Regions from separate parts of the Homo sapiens genome. Here region 1 is linked to region 2. Evidence: promoter capture Hi-C in human tissues and cell types (Jung and others, 2019). All regions are on one chromosome and are shown on one strand. The core of a region is centred on a gene start or on the middle of the fragment in contact, and the rest is flanking DNA. Distances in the headings are between cores, read along the strand shown. Region 1 overlaps LOC124903780 (a long non-coding RNA gene). Region 2 holds the start of CDH5 (cadherin 5).

Region 1 (6,213 bases), core at 2,063-4,562, 1.1 Mb after region 2:
CTAAGAGAGACTAACCATTCCTGAAGGAATCCATGTGTTTTGGGGGTGAGGTGGGAGTACACGGAAATCATAAACAACAAGTGGAAAGAGTAGGTGATAATAATTAGTTGGTGGTTTTAATTAGGAGATCTCTTAGGCCAGATGTTCATTGAAAAAGAATGACGACCCCTCCTGAGATATGTAATGAAACTTCAACCCCCACGGCTGGGGAAGGGGGTGGAGATGCAGAATATGGATGCATGAGAGGCATATAGGCCTTTAGCCTGAAGCTTCCTGTGCTGGGGGAAAGGAAGGGGAGGGTGTATGTGTGTTTTTGGTGGAGCCCACCTTCTATCCCTGAGACTTAGGCATTTGTATTCTCTTTTGAGTAGCCAGTTCAGCAGAGCGTGCCTGCTTCTGATTAACCTAAGGAGGACGGCCGGGAGACCTGACTCCTTGCCTGGACTGGGCGGTCTCAGGAATCTGGGCCTCTGTGCACTGTCTGGGACTCATTGTTCTGGGGAGAGAATGGGCAGAGGCATCCTGCGAGTCCTCCCTGGCACTTGCAGACAGCAGGCTTTTGTACCTATTCCTGCTCTAAGGGGGGTGTAACACGTGGTTGGCTGGAAATCTGGTGTGAATAAATTCTGATGTACATATTCATACTTTGTACTGATACTATGCAGACTATTAAGTCATTTACAGCTATGGTTACCAAGAGTTTCTGATGATAATACATCTGTAATAGTGTATTTTTAAAAAGCAAGATATAAAGTTATACTCATTCATAAACAAACAGATATCAACTATGTATAAAAGAAAATCATGCAAAAAGAAAGAAAAAACTGGAAATAAATGGATCACTGTGCTGAAAGGTAACTCTCTGGATTATTGTTTCCTTATGAACTTTGGCATTTCTAGGTGGTGTAGAGGACGGCCTTAACCTTGGGGTTGAATCCTGGTTCTGATCTTCACAGGGTTTGGGATTTGGGGTAAGATGCTTACCTTCCTAACTCTGATTTTCCTCCTGTGTGAAATACAGTGATATTGTCACCAAAGTAGGAATGTTGTGAGGATTAAAATAGATATCTCTTTTTCCTATAATGTGTTTACTCTGGGCCAGACCATGTATTAACCATGAGCTACCAGGTATTAAGTGTCAAACTCCTTAGTTAAGAAACATGGAGATGGAAACTTGCCCAGAGTGATTAATTAAGAAAATAAAATCAATATTTGATAGCAGAGTAGGGTGACTATAGTTAAGACAAATGCAGTGTGCACTGGTGATGAACACCCTAAGTTCCCTGACTTGTTACTATGCATTATATACATATAAGAAAATTTCACATATACTCCATTAATTTGTGCAAATAAAAATAACTTTTTTTAAAAAAGAAAAGAACAGTCATCGTAATAGTAGCTAACATCCCCTGGACACTTTCTAAGCAGCTTCCATGGACTATACCTTTGAAGTCACAGAAAAACACTATGGCATACATCTGTCTAATGTTATTTTCTAGAGATCACTAAAGCTTAGGAAATTAATGGGACTTTCCAAGGCTCACACCATTTGTGAGTGGCAGAGCTGGGATTTGATCCCAGGGAGAATATGTTCAAAGATTGGTCTCTAAGTTTTCATAAAAGGAAGGGGAACAATACCAAGGAAAGGCAAGAACTGCGCAAAACAGCATGGGAGTTGAAGGCAGAAATAAATAAATTCCCTTTGGGCCAGGAGTCAGCCAACTTTTTCTGTAAAGAGTCAGACAGTGAATATTTTATGCTTTCCAGGTCATTCACTTTCTGTTGCAACTCCTCAACTCTACCATTGTAGTGCAAAAGCAGCCATGTATGCCAATGAATGAGTGTGGGTGTGTTCAAATAAACCTTTATTTACAAAAATGGGTGGAGTTGACTGATGGGATATTGTTTGCCAACTCCTGCATAAGACCCTTATCAGAATTTGAGATTGGGAGTGGCTTTGAAAGAGGATATTGCTGAAAATCCTCATTTCAGATTAACTGAGGTTCCTAGAATCCAGGGATTGGATTCCCAGAACTAGTACTTTGTTTATCCATTGATTAACTGGCCTAGTATCACACAGTTGACAAAAGGCAGATTCTGGACCTGAATCCACATCAGTTTAACTATGGAACCCAGCTAAATTCTGCAACTCTGTTAATACAACTGATCGAAATGAATGCCTGGATGGGCTCTTCTCCAGCATGTTCCACTGTTGGACAGAGTTAACAATGGTGAACAACACTCTCTTGCATTTCCTACTGACGTGTGACCTTGAACAAGAGACCAGCTTCTCTGAGAGTCAGCCTTATGCTGCCTTTACCAGATATGTCAGCAAGATCAGGGACTTCACATCCAGATAGATTTTGTTCTGACCATAGACTTTGGGATCTATAGTGGTGAGATCTTAGGCAACTGTAAGACTCTCTCAGAAATAAGGACTGTTGCTTCCTACTCATATCTTTCTAAGAAAACTCCACCACTATCCCTGCCACCACAACCTGCACATGTTGCAAACCAAGGCATCCACGTGAATCACTTTGCAAGCTCATACCCTCATCGTAGTTTATTGGACCTGACCCAAGGCAAACTGGTGTCAGGCCTTTGAGCCCAAGCCAAGCCGTCGCATCCCCTGTGACTTGCACATATACGCCCAGATGGCCTGAAGTATACATTTTATTACCCAATCTGCTCCCGACATTAAATAAAACTCCAAAAATTGGAATCTGGCCCTCAAACCCCACAACAGGACTTAATTAACCTCACCTTCAAGGTGTACAATAACAGAAAAAAGTTACAATTCCTTGCCTCCACTGTGAGACAAACCCCAGCCACATCTCCAGCACACAAGAACTTCCAAACGCCTGAACCGCAGCGGCCAGGCGTTCCTCCAGAACCTCCTTCCCCAGGAGCTTGCTACACGTGCCCGAAATGTGGCCACTGGGCCAAGGAATGCCCGCAGCCCGGGATTCCTCCTAAGCCGCGTCCCATCTGTGTGGGACCCCAATGAAAATTGGACTGTTCAACTCACCTGGCAGCCACTCCCAGAGCCCCTGGAACTCTGGCCCAAGGCTCTCTGACTCCTTCCCAGATCTTCTCGGCTTAGCGGCTGAAGACTGACACTGCCCGATCGCCTCGGAAGCCCCCTAGACCATCACGAACGCCGAGCTTCCGGTAACTCTCACAGTGGAAGGTAAGCCCGTCCCCTTCTTAATCAATACGGAGGCTACCCACTCCACATTACCTTCTTTTCAAGGGCCTGTTTCCCTTGCCTCCATAACTGTTGTGGGTATTGACGGCCAGGCTTCTAAACCTCTTAAAACTCCCCAACTTTAGTGCCAACTTAGACAATACTCCTTTAAGCACTCCTTTTTAGTTATCCCCACCTGCCCAGTTCCCTTATTAGGCTGAGACACTTTAACTAAATTATCTGCTTCCCTGACTATTCCTGGACTACAGCCACATCTCATTGCCACCCTTCTCCCCAACCGAAAGCCTCCTTCGCGTCTTCCTCTCATATCCCCCTACCTTAACCCACAAGTATGGGACATCTCTACTCCTTCCCTGGCAACCGATCACATGCCCATTACATCCCATTAAAACCTAATCACCCTTACCCCACCCAATGCCAATATCCCATCCCGCAGCACACTTTAAAAGGATTAAAGCCTGTTATCACTCGCCTGCTACAGCATGGGCTTCTAAAACCTATAAACTCTCCCTACCATTCCCCCATTTTACCTGTCCTAAAACCAGACAAGCCTTACAAGTTAGTTCAGAATCTGTGCCTTATCAACCAAATTGTTTTGCCTATCCACCCCGTGGTGCCAAACCCGTATCCTCTCCTATCCTGAATACCTCCCTCTACTACCCATTATTCTGTTCTGGATCTCAAACATGCTTTCTTTACTATTCCTTTGCACCCTTCATCCCAGCCTCTCTTTGCCTTCACTTAGACTGACCCTGACACCCATTAGGCTCAGCAAATTACCTGGGCTGTACTGCCGCAAGGCTTCACAGACAGCCCCCATTACTTCAGTCAAGCCCAAATTTCATCCTCATCTGTTACCTATCTCGGCATAATTCTCATAAAAACACACGTGCTCTCCCTGCTGATCGTGTCTGATTAATCTCCCAAACCTCAATCCCTTATAAAAGAACAACTCCTTTCCTTCCTAGGCATGGTTAGTGTGGTCAGAATTCTTACACGAGAGCCAGGACCACACCCTGTAGCCTTTCTGTCCAAACAACTTGACCTTACTGTTTTAGCCTAGCCCTCATGTCTGCGTGCAGCGGCTGCCACTGCTTTAATACTGTTAGAGGCCCTAAAAATCACAAACTATGCTCAACTCACTCTCTACAGTTCTCATAACTTCCAAAATCTATTTTCTTCCTCATACCTGATGCATATACTTTCTGCTCCCCGGCTCCTTCAGCTGTACTCACTCTTTAAGTCCCACAATTACCATTGTTCCTGACCAGGACTTCAGTCCAGCCTCCCACATTATTCCTAATACCACACGTGACCCCCATGACTGTATCTCTCTGATCCACCTGATATTCACCCCATTTCCCCATATTTCATTCTTTCCTGCTCCTCACCCTGATCACGCTTGATTTATTGGTGGCAGTTCCACCAGGCCTAATCGCCACACACCAGCAAAGGCAGGTTATGCTATAGTACAAGCCACTAGCCCGCCTCTTAGGACCTCTCATTTCCTTTCCATGGTGGAAATCTATCCTCAAGGAAATAACTTCTCAGTGTTCCATCTGCTATTCTCAGGGATTATTCAGGACCCCTCCCTTCCCTACACATCAAGCTCAAGGATTTGCCCCCACCCAGGACTGGCAAATTAGCTTTACTCAACATGTCCCGAGTCAGGAAACTAAACTATTAGACCTCTTAGTCTAAATAGACACTTTCACTGAATAAGTAAAGGCCTTTCCTACAGGGTCTGAGAAGGCCACCACAGTCATTTCTTCCCTTCTGTCAAACATAATTCCTCAGTTTAGCCTTCCCACCTCTATACAGTCTGATAACAGACCAGCCTTTATTGGTCAAATCAGCCAAGCAGTTTTTCAGGCTCTTAGTATTCAGTGAAACCTTTATATCCCTTACAGTCTTCCATCTTCAAGAAAAGTAGAGTGGACTAAAGGTCTTTTAAAAACAGACCTCACCAAGCTCAGCCACCAACTTAAAAAGGACTGGACAATACTTTTACCACTTTTGCTTCTCAGAATTCAGGCCTGTCCTCAGAATGCTACAAGGTGTACAGGAGCCCATTTAAGCTCCTGTATAGACGCTCCTTTTTATTAGGCCCCAGTCTCATTCGACACCAGAGCAACTTAGACTGTGCCCCCAAAAAAACTTGTCATCCCTACTATCTTTTGTCTAGTCATACTCCTATTCATCGTTCTCAACTACTCATACGTGCCCTGCTCTTGTTTACACTGCCGGTTTACACTGTTTCTCCAAGCCATCACAGCTGATATCTCCTGGTGCTATCCCCAAACTGCCACTCTAAACTCTTGAAGTAAATAAATAATCTTTGCTGGCAGGACTATGCTGAATCTCCTGAGGCACTCTCTAATCAGATGTCCTGGGTCCTCCCAATTCTTAGACCTTTTATACCTGTTTTTCTCCTTCTCTTATTCCATTTCGTTTTTCAATTCATACAAAACCGTATCCAGGCCATCACCAATCATTCTATATGACAAATGTTTCTTCTAACAACCCCACAGTATCACCCCTTACCACAAGACCTCCCTTCAGCTTAATCTCTCCCACTCTAGGTTCCCACGCCACCCCTAATCCCGCTTGAAGCAGCCCTGAGAAACATCGCCCATTCTCTCTCCATACCACCCCCAAAAATTTTCGCCGCCCCAACACTTCAACACTATTTTGTTTTATTTTTCTTATTAATATAAGAAGGCAGGAATGTCAGGCCTCTGAGCCCAAGCCAAGCCATCGCATCCCCTGTGACTTGCAGGTATATGCCCAGACGGGCTGAAGTAACTGAAGAATCACAAAAGAAGTGAAAAGGCCCTGCCCCGCCTTAACTGATGACATTCCACCATTATGATTTGTTCCTGCCCCACCTTAACTGAGTGATTAACCCTGTGAATTTCCTACTCCTGGCTCAGAAGCTCCCCCACTGAGCACCTTGTGACCCCCGCCCCTGCCCACCAGAGAACAACCCCCTTTGACTGTAATTT
Region 2 (6,646 bases), core at 1,740-4,239:
TCTAAAGGGACAGCTCCAAACTTCAAGGAGAGAACACCCATGCTAAGGAGGCTTCCAGACTCCTCTGGGCTTCCTGACTTTGTCTGGGACTGTCAGGGCAGTGCGGGGAACAGAATGAGGCCCTTGCACCTGCCTATTTGAACCTGCCCAGCTGCTCGGGAGCTGTGTGACCTTGGGTTCATCTCTTGCTTGCTGAGCCTCAGCTTCCTTATCTGTAATGGAGGCAACAATAGCTGCCTCCCTGGGCAGGAGGATTAAATGAGATCATGGGTGCAAAGCCTGGCACACAGTAGGTGCTCAGTAAGGGTGCAGGTGTCTTGACTCCTATCTACCCGCCCTCTCCAGCCTGGTGGGTGTGGCTTTGACTGGCCAACTTACGCTTGACCTCATTTCCTGGCTCTACTCTGGGCCCACCTCCTACTCTTTCTGTTCCTCTGCAGAAGGAAATCTCATTCACCACCAGCCCGGCCTGCCCCTGGGTCCCACTTCCTCCTCCTTCTAGTATCTGGACCTGCCAGGATCTGACTGTTTTGCTATGGTCCAAGGCAGACAACCTGGAAATCCCTGAATTAGTTTAGGGACCATCCCCTACTCTCAAGAGATGGGAAGACTGAGGTGCAGGCTGCAGAGGGGCTGCCCAAGGCCTCCTAGCATCTGGGATTCCCACTCTTCCTCCAGCAAGCCCTCCATGATTTACCCACTTAACACCAGCTTGAACCTGGATCAGGACAGACTTTTTAGTATCTCCTCAGCCAGAGGTGAAGCTCCTGAGGCCCTGCCTCCTAGAACATTCCTTCCCCTGGTATCACTGGGCTCCTGGCTTGTCCCTGTGCCTGCCTCTGTGGCCTGGACTGCTCTGCTTTCCCCCTCTCTGAGCTTCACTGTGGAGTGTGGCATGGACTGTGGGTCAGAAGGAACCGCACTCACCCTGCTTCTACCTTGTGTTGGTTGTGTGACCTTGGACTGGCTGCACAGCTTCCCTCAGCCTCGATGGTCCCATCTGTCAAATGGGAATTCTCATAGTTGCTTCAGTGTGACTGAGGGGGTGCAGAGAGAGGATACAGGGAACAGTCATGGGTCCATGTGGGCAAAATGAGCCTAAGATTCTTCCTGGGATGGTGTCCCCTCTGTCCCCTGGGTGTCCCCAAGTCAGCAGTGAATCATCCAACTTTGCAGAAAATGTGTGGCCCCTGCTGGCTTCCTGCCCTCATGTCCGGCCCTTGTTTGGCAACACAATAGCTCAGGCTGAGGCTGCAGGCGGGCAGCTTAACCCCTTCCAGGCCAGTATACACCTCCCCTACCCCTCACCACCATAAGCTGAAATTGGTAGGGCTGCTCAGGGGCTCAGCAGCTCTTGGGCCCCTTGGTGGATACCTGCTGCTCTCTAGGGCAGGCAGAGGAGAGTCCCAGGCTTCCCACCACCTGAGGATGGACCAGGGCTTCTGGCCCTGGCTCCAGTGGCCTGTGGCAAAAGAGCCTTCCAGGTACACCCTCGACTCCTCAAAGCTGCCTCCCTGGGAATGCCCTTCCTCTCTTGTCAGAATCCTATCTGCCCATCACACATGAGAAACGTCCACGCTGGGGAGGGAGCCTGACATGGAGCAGAGGCCCAGAGGTGCTCGCGATGTCCTCTCACTTGCACCCCCTTCCTCGTACCTGCTGGGCACCTGAGGACCCCTCCGTGATGGGGTTTGACCATACCTCAAGGGCCAAAATCTTTATCACATTCACAACCAGGATCGGCTCTGTGCTAGCTGGTAAATCCAGCCACTATTCCTTAAAGATCTCATGTTATGTGCCATTCCCAGCACCAGGGATGTAGCTCACTTCACTCAATTGACTGAGGAAACACTGTTTCCCCATTTCACAGATGAGACACTTGAGACCTGGGGAGAGCTGGGGCTTTGGAGTACGAGATCCTGGTTCAAATCCCCACACCAGCTCATATGTTTCCAAAGCTCAGTTGCTTTCACTGAGATATAAAGAAAGAATGTATCTACCTTGTGGAGTTGTTAATGGTAAAATAATGAGCCCCACACCATCCCTTGTTCCCCACTGTGGTTTGGAAACTCTGGGTAACTTTCCCAAGGTCACCCCAGAGCAAATGGGAGAGCTGGGATCTGTACCCAGGGCAGCTGTCTCCAGGCCAGGCTCTTGGCCCAGACCTCCTGCTTCTGGGGGACTTCCTGGGCTGTGGGGGCCTTGGGGCTCTTATGCTCTAGCCTTTGAAAGGGTGCTGGTGGGAGGAATGGTGGACCGCTGTCCAGACTACAGCTCCCTTGACACATAGTGGGCCCCGATGGTGTTTGGGCAGGGAAAGGCCCAGAGGGAAAGGCAAGACCTCAAGTGCCCAGAGCCAAGCCTCAGCTTGCCTATCCTGAAATGGGGGCACTGGCTGACCGAGAGGGGCCAAGGCTCGGAGCTTCCTTTTCAGGGCCCCTCCCCAGATCCCAGCATAGAGCTTTAGTGGCGTATGGGTAGGGGGCTGAGGAGGCTGGTGTCAGGCCTTGGTAAATCCTCTCCAGTAAGGGTAAGGCACCGAGGGGAGGCCAAGGCCTGGGTGCCAGTCCTCTGCCCCGGCATGCTGGGCAACTGGGGCAGAATACTGCCCTCTCTGAGCCTGGCACTGATGAAGGCCAGTGGGCCTTTTTGAGTTGGAGAATACACTTCTGGGAGAGCCAAGCCCTTGCCCTGCCCCCCTCAGCCCCGAGATGCCCATTTGTGCCCTTGGCACTACCTCTGGGTGCACCTTCCCCGACCCTGCTCTGAGCCACGAGGAGGCCCAGCGTGCCCTCGAGGAGCCTCTCTGTCATGGGAGTGGGACGATGCCCATTCTACAGATGGGGAAGCTGAGGACCCTCCCATCTTGGGCGCAGGGTGGCGGGTTTGGGGTGGAGGGGAGTGTGGGAGCCCCCACTCACCGTGCCTGTGGGCTGAGGGATGTTTCTGTTCCGTTGGACTGCCTGTCCGTCCAGGGCTGAGCGTGAGTGGAGCTCTGTGGAGCCTGTCAGCCGACCGTCTTTGGAGGGGAGCCACACCCCGCTGGCGAGGGAGGCCTGGCTGCCTCCCCTTCAGGTTTTCCAGCTGGCCCTGGCCCACTTCCCCCTGGGATGGTTTCCTGTTATTGTTCCTTTGTGAGGGCTGGGCTGGCTGCAGATAGGCAGGCCCTGCGGTGGGCGGCTGCCTCGGCCCCGGATGGCTGTCTCCACAGAGGGCTGGCACTGGACCCTGCCTGGGGCACCCCACTTGAACCCCTACTCCCGGCCTCAGCTCTGGGACTCTGAACCCAGCACCTGCAAAGAGCCTGGCTGTGGGGACCCTTGGCTGCAGCATCACATTTAACCCTCCTTGGAATGCTACAGGCAGGTGTCATCACCCCCATTTTATAGCCCGGGAAGCTGAGGCTCAGCGGGTTTAAGGTGCTTGTCCACCCAGCTGGGGTATAAAAGAGCCAAAAATCTAGCTGGGGTCAGCCTAGCCCCAGAGCTTGATTTTCTGTGGTGATCCCATGATGTCTTTGTGGGAATGGACTTTAAAGGTGACAGGGAGGCTTCAGGAGATGGGAAAGGGACAGAAGCTCTTGGCTCTGGAGGACCAGGTTGGCTTCTCCTGGTCAGAGCGGGCATGGACTCCAGCTCTAAGGTGCCAGCCTCGGTCTGTAGGGGATGTTTGCATTTAGGGATATTGGGTGGAGTCAAGTGACCCAGCTCTGCTTCTGATGTGACCTCTGGCCAGTTGTGTCATCCTGGAGCCACAGTTTCCTCATCTGTAAAATGGGGATAATCACAGCCTCATCCTCACAAGGCTTTTGACATAAACGAGAATCAAAGAGGGGCGTGGAAGACAGTGACGCTGAGGCTGGATCAGAGCCCAGAAGAACCAAGAGGCTGGGGGGAAGGGAGGGGCCAAGATTCTGCTGACCAGGAGAGACATAGGAGGAGCTTCTAAAAACTACAGAGGACTGGGCTCACCCCAGATCAACTGATTTGGAATCTCCCAGGGCAGATCCTGGGAATCTGTCCTTTGAAGAGTTGCTTCTGTTTTTCCATGGGTGAATGGTTGGGAAGTCCCAAACTTGTTTTATTATATAGCTGGGCAAGCAGAGACCCTGAGAAAGAGAGGGCCCAGGGCCGTTTAGTAAATCAGAGCACAAGATGGGGAGTGTGATGGAAGGATATTTTTGGAGGAGGAGGGGATAGTGATTCCTCTGTCTCAGGCAGGTTGAGTTTGAGATGCTCGTTAGATACCCAGGTGGAGGTGTCAGGCTGGTGGGGGAGACAGGGGTGAGTCCAGCCTGGAGTCGAGGTTTGGAACCCAACAGCTTATGGCTGGCATCTGAGGCCATGGGCATGGATGAGCTTGGAGGGAGGGAGGACTTGGACCCTCTGACATTTGGGGATCCATTAGAAGAGGGTCCCATGATGAAGGAGGAATGCCAGGAGAGGGCAGAGGAGGAGGGCAGGGGAGTAGTCAGTGGGTCAGCCTGGGGAGCATGAGGGCTGAGACTTAACTTTGGATTTGGAAGATGAGGTCATCAATGACTGTGACCAGAACAGGTTAAACAGGAAAAGGTAGACAAGACAGATTGGAGGGGCTAGAGAAAGGGGAGAAAGGGGGACGGGGATGTGGAGTCACGTGTGACTGTAGCTTCTTCCCCAAGTCTTACAGTGAATGGGAGCAGAGAAGTGGGAGGGTTTTTTTTTTTTTTTTTTTTTTTTTTTTTTAACTATGGCAGCACGCTCATGTCCCCAGGGAGCATCCAGCAGACGGGAAGACAGATGATGCTGGAGACTGAGGAGCGACCTGCTGGAAGGAGAACAGTCCTTGGGGCGGAATTCTGAGTGGGATCCAACACATTCAACAGCCGATTGTGGAATGAACAAACAACAGCTCAGCGCTTCCTTCTCCAATGGGATTAACTCTGCTTTCTCCTGCCCAGAGGGGGGGTTGGCCGCAGAGGAGCCAGGACAGTGCTCTGTCCCCTGTGTTCCAGTCCACATCCCCCTCACCCCCGCCTGTCCTCATGGTCTACGTGCCCATGGGGATACACTGGCCTGTGCATTGCTTCCTGCTGGGTCTCAGACTCGGGGCTGTGGCAGATGGGGACAGGGCCTGTCCTGGCACCATCTGCCAATTCCCTTTGTACTCCCAGTCCATGAGGAAGTTGACTCTGCCCTGAAAACGACTGTTCCTGTGGTCCATAAACAAAGGAATGGTGAGCCAGGCATGAGCTGTGGGCCCCAGGGGTGGGGCTGGGGGTCACCGTAGCAGAGGTAGCTGAGACTGTGGGAGGGAGGCTGGTGCCTCCTTGGTCCCCCTGAGGATTTCATGCCTGATTTCTGGCACTGCCCAGCCTCTGCTCCAACCTCTCTGGAGGCAAAGGAGGTAACAGGAGGGCACAAGGCCAGGAAGTGTCATTGGGAGCAAGGAAGGCGGCTGGTGGGCTAGCAGGAAATGGGATGGTCTGTGAGACCAGATTAGTAGCAGAGGAGGAAGCAACAGTGGAGGCAGTGGGGGTGGGATGGCGGGTGGGACGACAAGGCCTGGGGACGCCCACCTGGCCTCTGCCAGGAGGAAGCCTGACCCGACAGGGAGCGCTGCTTGGGGAGGTACAGGTGTGGGGGTTGCAGACCCAGGTTTGGATCCTAGCATGACCCGTTGCTGCCTGCATGACCTGGGCAGCCGACTTGCCTCTCTGAGCTTCTTTCCTCACCTGTGAAATGAGTTATCTGTTCAGACTTTGCAGGCCGTTTGGAAGATGAAATGAGACAATGAAAATAAATGACAGGACCAGCAAGCCTTATCGAGTGGCTGTTTCTCAAAGTGTGGTCTTCAAGCCATCCATCCTGGGAGAGGGGGAGTGAATATGCAGATTTCTTGGGCCCCACTCCAGGCTGATGGGGTCAGAATGGCTGGTGATAGAATCCCAGGACTTATGTGTTTGTAGCTCCCCAGGAAACGTGTTTGTGTTGTTACATTTGAGGACCACAGCCTTTGTGTCTGCTGCTAATGCACTAAGCTCTCCTTGGGACTCCTCATTCAAACCTCAGGACAACCCTGCGGGGGTGGTACTACTGTTAGGCCCATTTTACAGATGGGAAAACAGAGGCTGGGAGTGAAAGCCTTTCTGAGATCAGAGTTTGTCAGTGGTGGGGCGGAAATTCCGAGCCACGCTTCTGTTTCCAGAGCCCAGCTCCTTACCCAGGGAGCTTTCCTGCCCTGCTGTAATTGAGTCGGGACACAGCAGGGGTTCCCCAAATAAGACTTCCTTTTCCTTCCTCCCCACAGCGTGAGACACCCAAGGATGGGGCAGGAAAACGATGCCATCAGCTTGGCAGGGGCGGTCGTGGTGAAGCCCTGCAGCCTCACGCCTCAGGACTTTGCCCATGCTGTTCCACCTTGTGTGTTTCCTTCTCTCTCCTTCCTCGCCTGTGCGCAGAGCCCTGGCAGAGCCACCCAGATCTCATTGTCTCTACACTCCACTCCCTCTTCTGAGCTCCCAGGGCACTTTATACAGACCTCATTCACAACCCTCCTCTCCTTTCCCACCGGGATTGTGTCCTATTTGGGTGCTTATCCCCAGCACCTGGTAATAGGTGAGTGCTCCCCAAATGTGAACTTGAAACTGTGCACTCATTAGAACCGG

What was found. Contacts are between HindIII fragments. The study calls those that stand out against the background at their distance.
Region 1: a contact is called between a fragment that was not itself captured here and the fragment with the promoter of CDH5 in region 2, in 1 of the 25 tissues and cell types used here (dorsolateral prefrontal cortex).

The regions. Positions count from the first base shown.
Region 1 is chr16:65,275,413-65,281,625 of GRCh38, reverse strand. All of the region lies in intron 2 of LOC124903780 (a long non-coding RNA gene), which reads right to left. Among named protein-coding and RNA genes, the nearest start is that of LINC02126, 100 kb to the right of the region's middle. The HindIII fragment of the contact is 4,843 bases long and covers 891-5,733 here.
Region 2 is chr16:66,363,034-66,369,679 of GRCh38, reverse strand. CDH5 (cadherin 5) reads right to left here and starts at 2,989. Exons shown (of 12, transcript NM_001795.5): 1 at 2,922-2,989. It overlaps LOC105371318 (a long non-coding RNA gene), which reads left to right. Exons shown (of 3, transcript XR_933687.3): 3 at 4,753-5,500. RefSeq lists a silencer at 423-502 and enhancers at 1,030-1,736, 2,547-3,096. The HindIII fragment of the contact is 33,771 bases long and covers 1-6,646 here.